Regions from separate parts of the Homo sapiens genome. Here regions 1 and 3 are each linked to region 2. The links are contacts of gene promoters, found by promoter capture Hi-C in blood cells and fetal thymus (Javierre and others, 2016). All regions are on one chromosome and are shown on one strand. Each heading gives the region's core, a stretch centred on a gene start or on the middle of the fragment in contact. The rest is flanking DNA. Distances are from core to core; before and after follow the strand shown.

Region 1 (3,271 bases), core at 19-2,518, 270 kb after region 2:
AATAGAAGAATTTGTAATACAATTATTCAAAAGAACGTTTTTCATTACCTGGGATTGGGAGGGTATCCGGATGGGTATGGAGAGATTCCACCTGGCATGCCTGGCATGTAGGAAGCTAAAAACAATTTTTTTCACATTGTAAAAATAATATACAAGGCCTGAATATGTAGGCTACTGAATAAGATATACATCACACTGTCAATACACAGCAAAATTTCACAGTTAAAAAATCCAAATCTCAGCACCAAAACAAAACAAATACCTCTCCCTTTCATAATCCTGAAATCATTAAACATGAATTACAATACTTATGACAATCCCTACCAAAAGAACTGGCAAACAGGTCAACCTGGTCAGCTTTTAAAGTTCTCAAGAAGTCTATTACCTAAGAGCAAGTTCAATTTCAAATTTAGAGGAAGGTAATTCTGGCCTTCTTCGGTCCAAGGTTAACTTCTTAGAAAGTAACTTCTTTATTATATCTAATAAATCTTTTGATATTTCTTTTATAACTATGTTGGCCAATTAGCACAGCTGATTTTGTTGGTTTAAAGACTTCAAGAGACTTCAAACTACTATGAGAAGTCCTATACAAAACTTACATTATCCAGACTGTTAAAAACTAGTCTAGGTGACAGAGTGAGACCCTATCTCAAAACAAAGAAACAAACAAAACAAAAGCTTAGAAATACTAGGGATAAAAGGTTAAAACCCAGCAAGCTTAAAGAATACTTTATACATTCTTTAAAGAGAACGTGAATGCCAAAGAACTAAGATCAGTGGTGCCAAGAGGCTAATCAACATAGAGGAAGAAAAAGAGAAGTTAATCTTGAGCTTAACTGACAAAAAAAAATAGTAAAGAATCTGCTCTAGAGTGTTTAACATGACTTACAGTGACTGAGTACAAAATTGAATTGCAACAGTAACAATAGTATGGTCTCTTTCTTGAATACTGCACTTCCAATGTCAATTTAAAACTCAAAGAAATTTAGGAAAAAAAAAATGTTGCAGGCCGGCCGCGGTGGCTCACGCCTGTAATCCCAGCACTTTGGGAGGCCGAGGCAGATCACTTGAGGTCAGGAGTTCGAGACCAGCCTGGCCAACATGGTGAAACCCCGACTCTACTAAAAATACAAAAATTAGCTGGGCATGGTGGTGGGGGCCTGTAATCCCAGCGACTTGGGAGGCTGAGGCTCGAGAATCACTTGAACCTGGGAGGCAGAGGTTGCAGTCAGCCCAGATCATACCACTGCACTCCGGCCTGGGCAACAGAGCGAGACTCTGTCTCAAAAAAAAAAAAAAGTTGCTTAGGAGACTACCTGAATTTCTGAAAAGGTTACCTTTGTCATAGCGGTCACTCGCTATATTATCTGAGCAAATAAACAAAGGTAATGAGACTAGGAAATATTTGATATCTTTTTTTTTTTTTTTTTTGATACAGAGTCTTGCTCTGTCACCCAGGCTGGAGTGCAGTAATGCGATCTCAGCTCACTGCAACATCTGCCTCAGCCTCCCGAGTAGCTGGGACTACAGGCATGCACCACCACACCTGGCTAATTTTGTATTTTTAGTAGAGATGGGGTTTCATCATGTTGGCCAAGCTGGTCTTGAACTTCTGACATCAGGTGATCCACCCCCACCTCGGCCTCCCAAAGTGCTGGGGTTACAGCTACCACACCCGGCCAAATATTTCGTATTTCAAACTTAAGCAAGATACTCTACTCTTGGGCACTAGAGTCAACAGAATTTAATAAGATAAAAACAAATTTCTAATCCAAAGGAATTACCAGTACCTTTACTAAAAGAAATAGTAATCCTAAAATCAAGCTTATTCTGGGAAGGTAGGGAAGGAAAGAGAAATGGGTTCAAAAATTCTTTCTGTTAAATTCCCATTCAGCTTATAAACCAAGATGTTCCTCAGGAAAGAATGGATTAAAAAGGAAAAAGTATAATTTTCAGCAGAAGAAAAATGAAAGCACATATAATTTGTCTTGTAAGATAAACAAGTTTGGTTAATTATAATCTTAAAGAAAATTTACCAAAAAAAAAAAAGTCACAGCTCAAAACACAGTGAAATCAATGCAGATTTAGTAAATTCAAAATAAGTACAACCAACTCACAATTATTCAGAGTGATTTTTAAGTATCAGTAAGAATTATTCAAGAAAATAGAGATAACAGAGATAATATATTCCAATTAGGGGAGAAGCAACACTCTCTCCATGCTCCCACCACTCCACACAAGGTAAAATCATGAATTGGCTGTACGAAAGAGAAGAAAGCTAAGAGCTAGATGTCCAATTGTGTATACCCAGAATAGCTGAATGTGAACGCTTCAGTTGACCTTAATCCTTATCTACAACACTGATTTTGTAGTTGCAAAGAGAAAGGAGAGGTCAGACTACCTTTCAAGTTATATGTGCTTCCAAGCTGATCAAATAAGGCTATTCTGCAGCATGCATAATTTTAAAAATTCTAGCTCTATTCTACACTTTCTCCTCCATTTTGGAATCCAGCACAACCATTCTTAGATTTCTACCTACAAATGGAAGCCCAAATGCCAGTCTTTGGTGGGAATCTGTACATGCAGATGTGGGGCCTCAGAATACTTCCAAAAAATCCACTAGCTTGATAAACTAAAAAGCAAAGAAGTCATTATTTTTCTTTATTTTTTTACAAAGGTTTCTGTTCTCTTTTGTTTATATGAGTTTTAAAGTAAAATCTCAATTCTACTTACTATTTGGTGGCCCCGTTGCCTGGTATGGCGGATAGGATGCCGAAATAGGACGAGAGAAGACTGGAGGTTCATCTCCAAATACCACAATCATGACCTGAATAAGCCCCAACAAGTCTGACTGTGGCTACAAAATGAAAAAAAATTCAAGTCAGCTACAGAGTTGCTTTTCAGTAAAAAGAAAAAGGTTAGCCATTTCTCATCGGTTTTCAACTCAGCTTGATAATTTTCTTTGTAGGACCCCAATCATGAAAATTTCATTTAATTAATTTATTTTAATAGAGTTAAGTGGTTTTAAACATGATGTGCAGCAAGGTTCTTGCTTCAAGTATATAAAAATAGCACTAGTTAAAGCAGCATATTGCAAAATTCATAGAGTTTTGTTCTTCATTTGACTCCACAGAACTAACAAAAATTTATTTTATTGCCACTGTACAATGTATTATAAGTATACTGGTACAAATTTAGGGATGAATATGAGCAACAGTCACAATATTATTAAAGGCCATTAAAAGACATCAATGATATCTTGGAAATACGT
Region 2 (3,554 bases), core at 299-2,798:
TAACAGCTAGTCAATAAGATTCGTTTCCCATCCAGAATGGCAGAAGTCAGTTTCCCAGCCGTATCTCAGCCCTCCTGTGGCTAATCAGTAGAAATTTGCTCTTTTTATTTATGGATAGAAGTTAGGGCTTAATTTTCATAAGCTCTGCATCCCAAGCATTGGCCATTTGCTTGGGTACAGGATGGGATTTCTCTACTCTCTGCTAGGCATGTCTCAGTCTTGGAGTATAATTGTGAACTCAGTATATTCCCTGAGGTGGATGAGCTAAATAAACATCATGCCCTGAGAAATCTGCCATCTGTAAATTTCCGCAGTGGGAGATAACCCCCTGGAAGTTTTTATCCTTCTGCACTCTACACCAAGAGTACAGGCTGGGCCCAAAGCATCTTTAACCTCTCGTCTGGAAACCCCAAGGGAGGGTGATAAATCAGACCAGCCTAGAGGAAGAAACAGATACAGAAAACCACACTCCTGCTCTGACCTCTGTGTGGCTTCTCTAAGGAGCACTCACATCCAGTGAGTATGTGGCCCCTGCTCAGAATGAATCCTGGGTATGTGCCCTCCATCCTCCAGAGTTCTTACCTTGGAGAGCCTCCTTGAAAAACGAACGCCAGCTTTCACTGGTGACTCCCATGACCAAGGAGCAGAAAACAATGCCTGTGAAAAGCCTCATTGTGCTGAAGAGAAAGAAAGACAGGGGCAGAGGATCATAAAAAAAAACACAGATCTATGTTTTGAGGACTGAATTTCTTTCCTTTTTTTCTTTCTTTTTTTCCTTTTCTTTCTTTCTCCTTCCTTTCTTTCTTTCCTCCCTTTCTTTCTTTCTTTTTTTTTTCCTATTGCCCAGGCTAAAGTGCAATGATATGATTAAGGCTTACTGCAGCCTCGACCTTCTGGGCTCAAGTGATCCTCCCACCTCAGCCTCCTGAGTATTAAGGACTACAAACGTGCACCATCACACTCAGCTAATTTTTTTTTTTTTTTTTTTGGTAGAGACAAGGTCTTGGTATGTATGTTCGGCCCAGGCTAGTCTCGAACTCCTGGCCTCAAGCAATCTTCCTACCTCAACCTCCCAAAGGATTACAGGCATGAGCCACTGTGCCAGCCAAAGGACTGAATTTGAAAGACTAATTCCCCATTTCCATTTGTTTGTATGAGAATCATAACTGCATGAAAGATTGAAACGGGTTTTAAGAAGAAGCATAAACCCTTAATTCTCAGCCCAGATCTCTAGAAAGAATAAGAGGATTCCAACGTGTTATTTGGTCTGTGGTCAATTTGTCACCCAATACAGCAGACTAAAGTCAATCAAGAAGCATTTCCTGAGTTCCTACTCTCCTCAGCACTGACCCCGTAATGAGGTAGAAAACACAGTTTCTCTCCAATTGAAATTTGACAATTATGTGAGAAAAGGATCTCAAAAGAGTCAAATAAGAGAAATTACTCCTTGGAAGAAACCTCACCTGTGGACCTTTCTCCAGATGAAATTTCAGTAAAGGCAGAGCTGCTGGTATCTTCTGGCCGTGGAGCTATAGTTGGTACCTCTGCTGGCTTTGGCATTAATGGGAGAACGGTTTTAAATCCAACAACCTGCCTTGCCAAAGTCCTTTTTGCTCAATTCTTTGGGTATTTTAAAAATTAACATATTGGGTAATAGTGTTTCCTTATCTAGAAGTAGTTTTCCAAATTGGGTCATCAAGGTATTTATTTTCTGGCAGTTTTTCTTAATTGCCACTTTTCCCTCTTTTTAGTTTCCTGTATCACAGAAGAGTTGTATTTGCAAAATCCAGTGTGGGAAGACAGAGGTCTTTCTCCACTTTCTTCTCTTTGTGTCTTTCCATTCTTAACTGTTTAGTAGGAGGTCTTCCCAAAAAATTGCACATAGATATTATGCTGTAGGAAGTGATCAATATTATTAGCAAAAGAGATGTTTGCTTGTCTCTTGTGACTTCTCTCTAAAGAATGTAAGGACACAGAACAAGCAAGACTTGACTGTACCATTCATGGGATGAGGTAATGATTCTGGGAGAATACAAGGACAGGAATAACACCAGAAGATCAAGGGTGAAGGCCTTTGAGGCATAAAAACTCTTTTTTCATATAAATATGTATTATTCTGCACTTTCTTTTAAACTTACTATTTATTGGAAGTCTTTCCATGTCGGGCTTGTTGCTTTTTTTTTTTTTTTTTTTACAGCTACACAGTATTCCATTGCATGGATGGACCATAATTTATACAATATTAATGGCTGTTTTGACAGTTATTAACCTTTTGATATTACAAATAATGGTGCATTTATTAACCTTGTACATATGTCTCTTGCACATGTACAAATATATCTCTAGGATAAATTCCTACAGAAGAAACTCCATGGTGAAAAAGTATCAGATTTTATAAATTTTTTGTTTGTTTGTTTGAGACAGAGTCTCACTCTGTCCCCCAGGCTGGAGTGCAGTGGCATGATCTCAGCTCACTGCAACCTCCACCTCCGGGGTTCAAGAGATTCCCCTGCCTCGGCCTCTTGAGTAGCTGGGATTATAGGCACATGCCACCACATCAGGCTAATTTTTCTATTTTTAAGAGAGACGGGATTTCGCCATGTTGGCCAGGCTAGTCTCGACCCACTTACCTCAAATGATCTGCCCACCTCGGCTTCCCAAAGTGCTAGGATTACAGGCATGAGCCAACGTCCCTGGCCCTAGATTTTATAAATTTTTATATGTTGCAAATTGCCTTCCATGAGGGCTGTATCAATCTCTACTCCCACCAGAAATGAGTGAAAGAACTTGGTTCCACATTGTCTCTCACACAGTATACTCTCAAACTTTTTGGTCTTTGAAATTGTGAGTAAAATAAAACTCAAAGTAATTTTAATTTACATTTCTCTTATTATGATTTTGGTTTCACATCTTTCCACATGTTTAAGAGCTATTTCTATTTTCTAGGAATTGTGAATTCATACCTTCATATCAAAGTAGTCATTTTTTACTGGTTTATTGTGTTTTTATTTATCACATTAGAGAAACTTTTTATATACAGGGAAAATGAGTATGTTATCTAGGATATGAGTTACAAATATTTTTCCCAGCTTATTTATCTTCTGATTATGATGGCTTATGTTCTGCCAAAGAAATTATTTATGTTCTTGTCTTTATTAATATTTTCTTTAGTTGTCTTCTCAATTTCATAGTATTTGAAGAGCTTTCCCTACTTTGTTTTTTTGTGGTTTTCTTAAACTCAAATGTTTTTATTTCATTCCTTTTTAAAAATTTTTTGTGGGTACATAGTAGGTGTATATAATTATGGGGTACATGAGATATTTTGGTACAGCCATGCAATGCGCAATAATCACATCATGGAAAATTGGGTATCCATCCCCTCAAGCATTTATCCTTTGTGTTACAAATAATCCAATTATACTCTTTTGGTTATTTTACAATGTACAGCTAAATTATTACTGACTATAGTCCCCCGTTGTGCTATCAAATACTAGCTCTTATTCATTCTAAGTATTTTTTTGGTACTCATTAACCATCCTCACCTCCCCTCACTC
Region 3 (3,617 bases), core at 13-2,512, 380 kb after region 2:
TCAGTGAAGTTCATGGGTGGTGGGGCACTTTTAAGGGGGACCTTTGGTTTGCTTTCAACTTTGGGAGGTTCTTGCTCTTCCTCATACTCCTGCTCTGACTCTGCGTGATTGTACTCGAGGAATTCATTCTCTTCTTCCATTTCATACTCTCGGTCGGTTCCTTGGCTGGTATGGCTTTCTGTTGCCTGCCTCTTCTTTGACTTTTCCTCAATAGGAATCCCATTGTAACCATGGAAATTATCCTTTGTCCTCTTGGCCATAGCTCTTGCTTTCTTGTCATGTTTGAGCTCAATTCGCTTTTTCACTAGTTCCTCTTTTCTCCTTTTCTCCTCTAAGGCTAAAAGGGACAAAACAAGAATATGTTATTACTTCGAGATCTCAAGATTGCAGTATGCTCAAGTGAAAACACAACGTTCAGGTTACAGTTTGAAGACATCTAGGAATCAAATGAGGAAGTCATGTGAACAAGTATCAATTGAGTCATCTTTACATAATGAGTGGGAGACATATGGGTTTTTCTATATGACTAAGCAAGTGGGAGACTTGGTTTTCAGCTTTAAATATACAAAATACTTCAAACCAAATACATTACCAAGTTAAGAGAACATTAGTATCCACTTAGTAGTTGTTATTAATTATGATTCAATGAATACTTAAACATATTGAATCAGTTTCTTTGTATTTGCATGAAGTAGAACTATTCGAAATAAAGACTTTAAAACTTATCTCTATTTTAGCCTTTTAGATAGCATTCTGTTAATAAAAATTAAAATACAAAATGGGTAGAAACACTTTCAGAACCAAGATTAAAGAAAGAATGGAGTTCTTACTGGGGACTTACTATGGCCAATTAGAAGACATGGCTACTAACCCCCAAAAAGCTGTTACTTCAAGGGGAGAAAAAAAGAAAACGTTTATACAAATGATCGAGGTAACATATGTAAAGCCATGAATACAGTCAGTTAACCTGGACACACACACACACACACACACACACACACCCTCCCAAATCTGTTGGCCTGTTATGTTTTTATAGACAGCCACTGGTTTAGTACAAGCTAGATGGTGAAGATGGAATACTTTAAAATTGAGAATAAGGCTATAGATACATACCTTTTCGTCTCAGCTCCTCTTCTTTCCTTTTAAGAAAAGCTTGTACAGCTGCTGATTGGACACCTTTAACTTTTGGGTCTTTTTTTGGAGGCCCCACTGCCAAACTATACCTTTTCTAAAAACAAAAACAGTAAAAGTTAGAAGCAATTCAACTTTTAAAATACATTATTAGGTATAAGGCACTGTGCCAGGTAATAAGAGGTATAAATGTTAACTGTGAAACCTATTCTGAATAATTGAGAGATCATATAACCCATAATAAAGCTTAGCTATAAAATTTCAGACTATTTATTACGTATGGTGATTTTGGGGTACAAAGTTTCCATGTAACATCCCAAAATAATGCATAAATGAACAATTCACAGAAACACTGTTTTCAGGCTATTTTCCAAAAAAGAACCTGGACTGGGTAACTAAATGAAATCACCACTTAGAAGAATCGATTATTTGTGTTTTAAAATTCTGATTTAGGCTGGGCTCAGGGTCTCATGCCTGTAATCTCAGCACTTTGGGAGGCGGAGGCGGGCGAATCATGAGATCTGGAGTTCGAGATCAGCCTGGCCAACATGGTGAAACCCCATTCCTACTAAAAACACAAAAAATTAGCTGGGCGTAGTGGCGGGTGCCTGTAATCCCAGCTACTCAGGAGGCTGAGGCAGAAGAATTGCTTGAACCCGGGAGGCAGAGGTTGCAGTGAGCCGAGATTGTGCCACTGCACTGTAGCCCGGGCGACAAAGTAAGACTCCGTCTCAAAAAAAAAAAAAAAAAAAAAAAAATCTGATTTAGGCCAGGTGCGGTGGCTCACGCCTATAATCCCAACACTTTGGGCGGCTGAGGTGGGAGGATTACCTGTGGTCAGGAGTTAGCAACCAGCCTGGCCAACATAGTGAAACTCCGTCTCTACTAAAAATACAAAAATTAGCCGGGCATGGTGGCGCACATCCGTAATCCCAGCTGCTTAGGAGGCTGAGGCAGGAGAATGGCTTGAACCCAGGAGGCAGAGGTTGCAGTGAGCCGAGATTGCGCCACTGCACTCCAGGCTGGACAACAGAGCAAAACTCCGTCTCAATCCATCAATCTATAAGTAAGTAAGTAAGTAAGTAAATGTATAAAATTCTGAGTTTAAAAATAGCCTGCCTTAGAAAGAAGCATTTCAAAGTCCAACTTTTCAAACGAACAGAAAAAACTACTCCTCACAACTATTTTCTCTCCTGACTACTCCAGATGATTTCCTAGTAGAGACTCATAGCTACATGTTTTATTTTGCTTAGAACACGGAAACACTGAGGTTTTACTTTGACCACACACAAAGGCTGGGGCAAACCACAGCAAAAAAGCATTTCAAAAAATCTATGCAATAAAGGCCCAATTCCCAGCAACCTTTAACTGTAGCTCTTATGTTCACTAAATGTTAATTTGCCTCACAACCTCCTTTTTAGACAGGTTCCTATAACACCCAAAAAAAGCTTACATTATCCTGGCACAGATGAAGTCTCTGGACCTCAGTTTTTATATAACTGCATCAAGAAATTACTAAACTCAAGTAATGTTAATTTGAACTATAAAAGGAAAAATATTTCCACTTTATAAGTACCTATTATGAGAGAAATATGACGAACATAGAGCTAAAATAAATTCAGACCAGGGATGATTCACCTCTACGACCATTCCACATTAAATCCAGGAAATAAGATTTTTAAAGTATCCTCCTTTTTTTGTTTTGTTAGGCAGATGCATTCTCATCTAACGTACCTGTTGCTGTGGCTAGCAGAAAAAGAAACATGTCCAAGAACAAATTGAGACAACTTAGGAACAACTTAGGAACCAAAAAAGTATTCCCAAATATGTATGAAATTCTTGGAGGAAAACCAAAAGATATGTGCTTACTATAAGGCTGCCAAATACGACGTATCTTGAAACAGGCTGGAAGTTTCAACTAAATTAGTCTGCCAACAAAGCAGCTGGCCAAGGAAGCAGGCTCTAATTCAACCTGAAAATCTTGCATGATAGCAATGCTGAGAAGTGACATATCCCTAATAGAGAGAAGTCCCAAGACAGCATCCAGATTTCTTTCCCAGTCACCTTGGCTAGGCCATAGTGAGATCCTTTAAAGTCCATATCTTTGTAAATTTAATTTTAGACTCTTTCCATAGTGGATAGGGGCTCAATATTTAAAGGAGAAAAGGGAGAAAGAAAGGGAGAGGAGAAAGGAGAAGTAATACTGCTAACCTAACTAGATATATATAAAATTGCCCTTGTTTACAAGAAAAGAACCACAAACATAGGTATTAATCACAAGGAGCTTACATTTTCATTGTGGAAAGGGCACCATGAATATGATTCAAATGAAGACATACAAAAAACTCATAAGCAGAGGCACACACTCACTCCACTCCATCCCATTAAGGGATTTGGAAGCAGAAGAAGGTGGATTTTTTTTCACTAACACTTAAGATTTTCCTGGCCAGGCGCAGTGGCTCAAGCCTGTAATCCTAGCACTTTAG

Evidence for each region. Contacts are between HindIII fragments. The CHiCAGO score rates a contact against its expected background, and 5 or more counts as called.
Region 1: a fragment that was not itself captured here is called in contact with the fragment with the promoter of SAA4 in region 2 in 1 of 17 cell types (naive B cells); the score reaches 5.1 in naive B cells.
Region 3: a fragment that was not itself captured here is called in contact with the fragment with the promoter of SAA4 in region 2 in 1 of 17 cell types (total B cells); the score reaches 5.3 in total B cells.

What each region holds. Positions count from the first base shown.
Region 1 is chr11:18,506,809-18,510,079 of GRCh38, forward strand. TSG101 (tumor susceptibility 101) reads right to left here. Exons shown (of 10, transcript NM_006292.4): 5 at 2,734-2,857; 6 at 49-115. Among named protein-coding and RNA genes, the nearest start is that of TSG101, 18 kb to the right of the region's middle. The HindIII fragment of the contact is 1,107 bases long and covers 716-1,822 here.
Region 2 is chr11:18,235,254-18,238,807 of GRCh38, forward strand. It overlaps SAA4 (serum amyloid A4, constitutive), which reads right to left and starts at 1,549. Exons shown (of 4, transcript NM_006512.4): 1 at 1,464-1,549; 2 at 583-677. The coding sequence starts at 673. It overlaps SAA2-SAA4 (SAA2-SAA4 readthrough), which reads right to left. Exons shown (of 6, transcript NM_001199744.2): 4 at 583-677. It also overlaps a transcript of SAA2 not described here. The HindIII fragment of the contact is 10,895 bases long and covers 1-3,554 here.
Region 3 is chr11:18,615,762-18,619,378 of GRCh38, forward strand. SPTY2D1 (SPT2 chromatin protein domain containing 1) reads right to left here. Exons shown (of 6, transcript NM_194285.3): 2 at 1,114-1,228; 3 at 1-337. Among named protein-coding and RNA genes, the nearest start is that of SPTY2D1, 17 kb to the right of the region's middle. RefSeq lists an enhancer at 1-1,051. The HindIII fragment of the contact is 225 bases long and covers 1,151-1,375 here.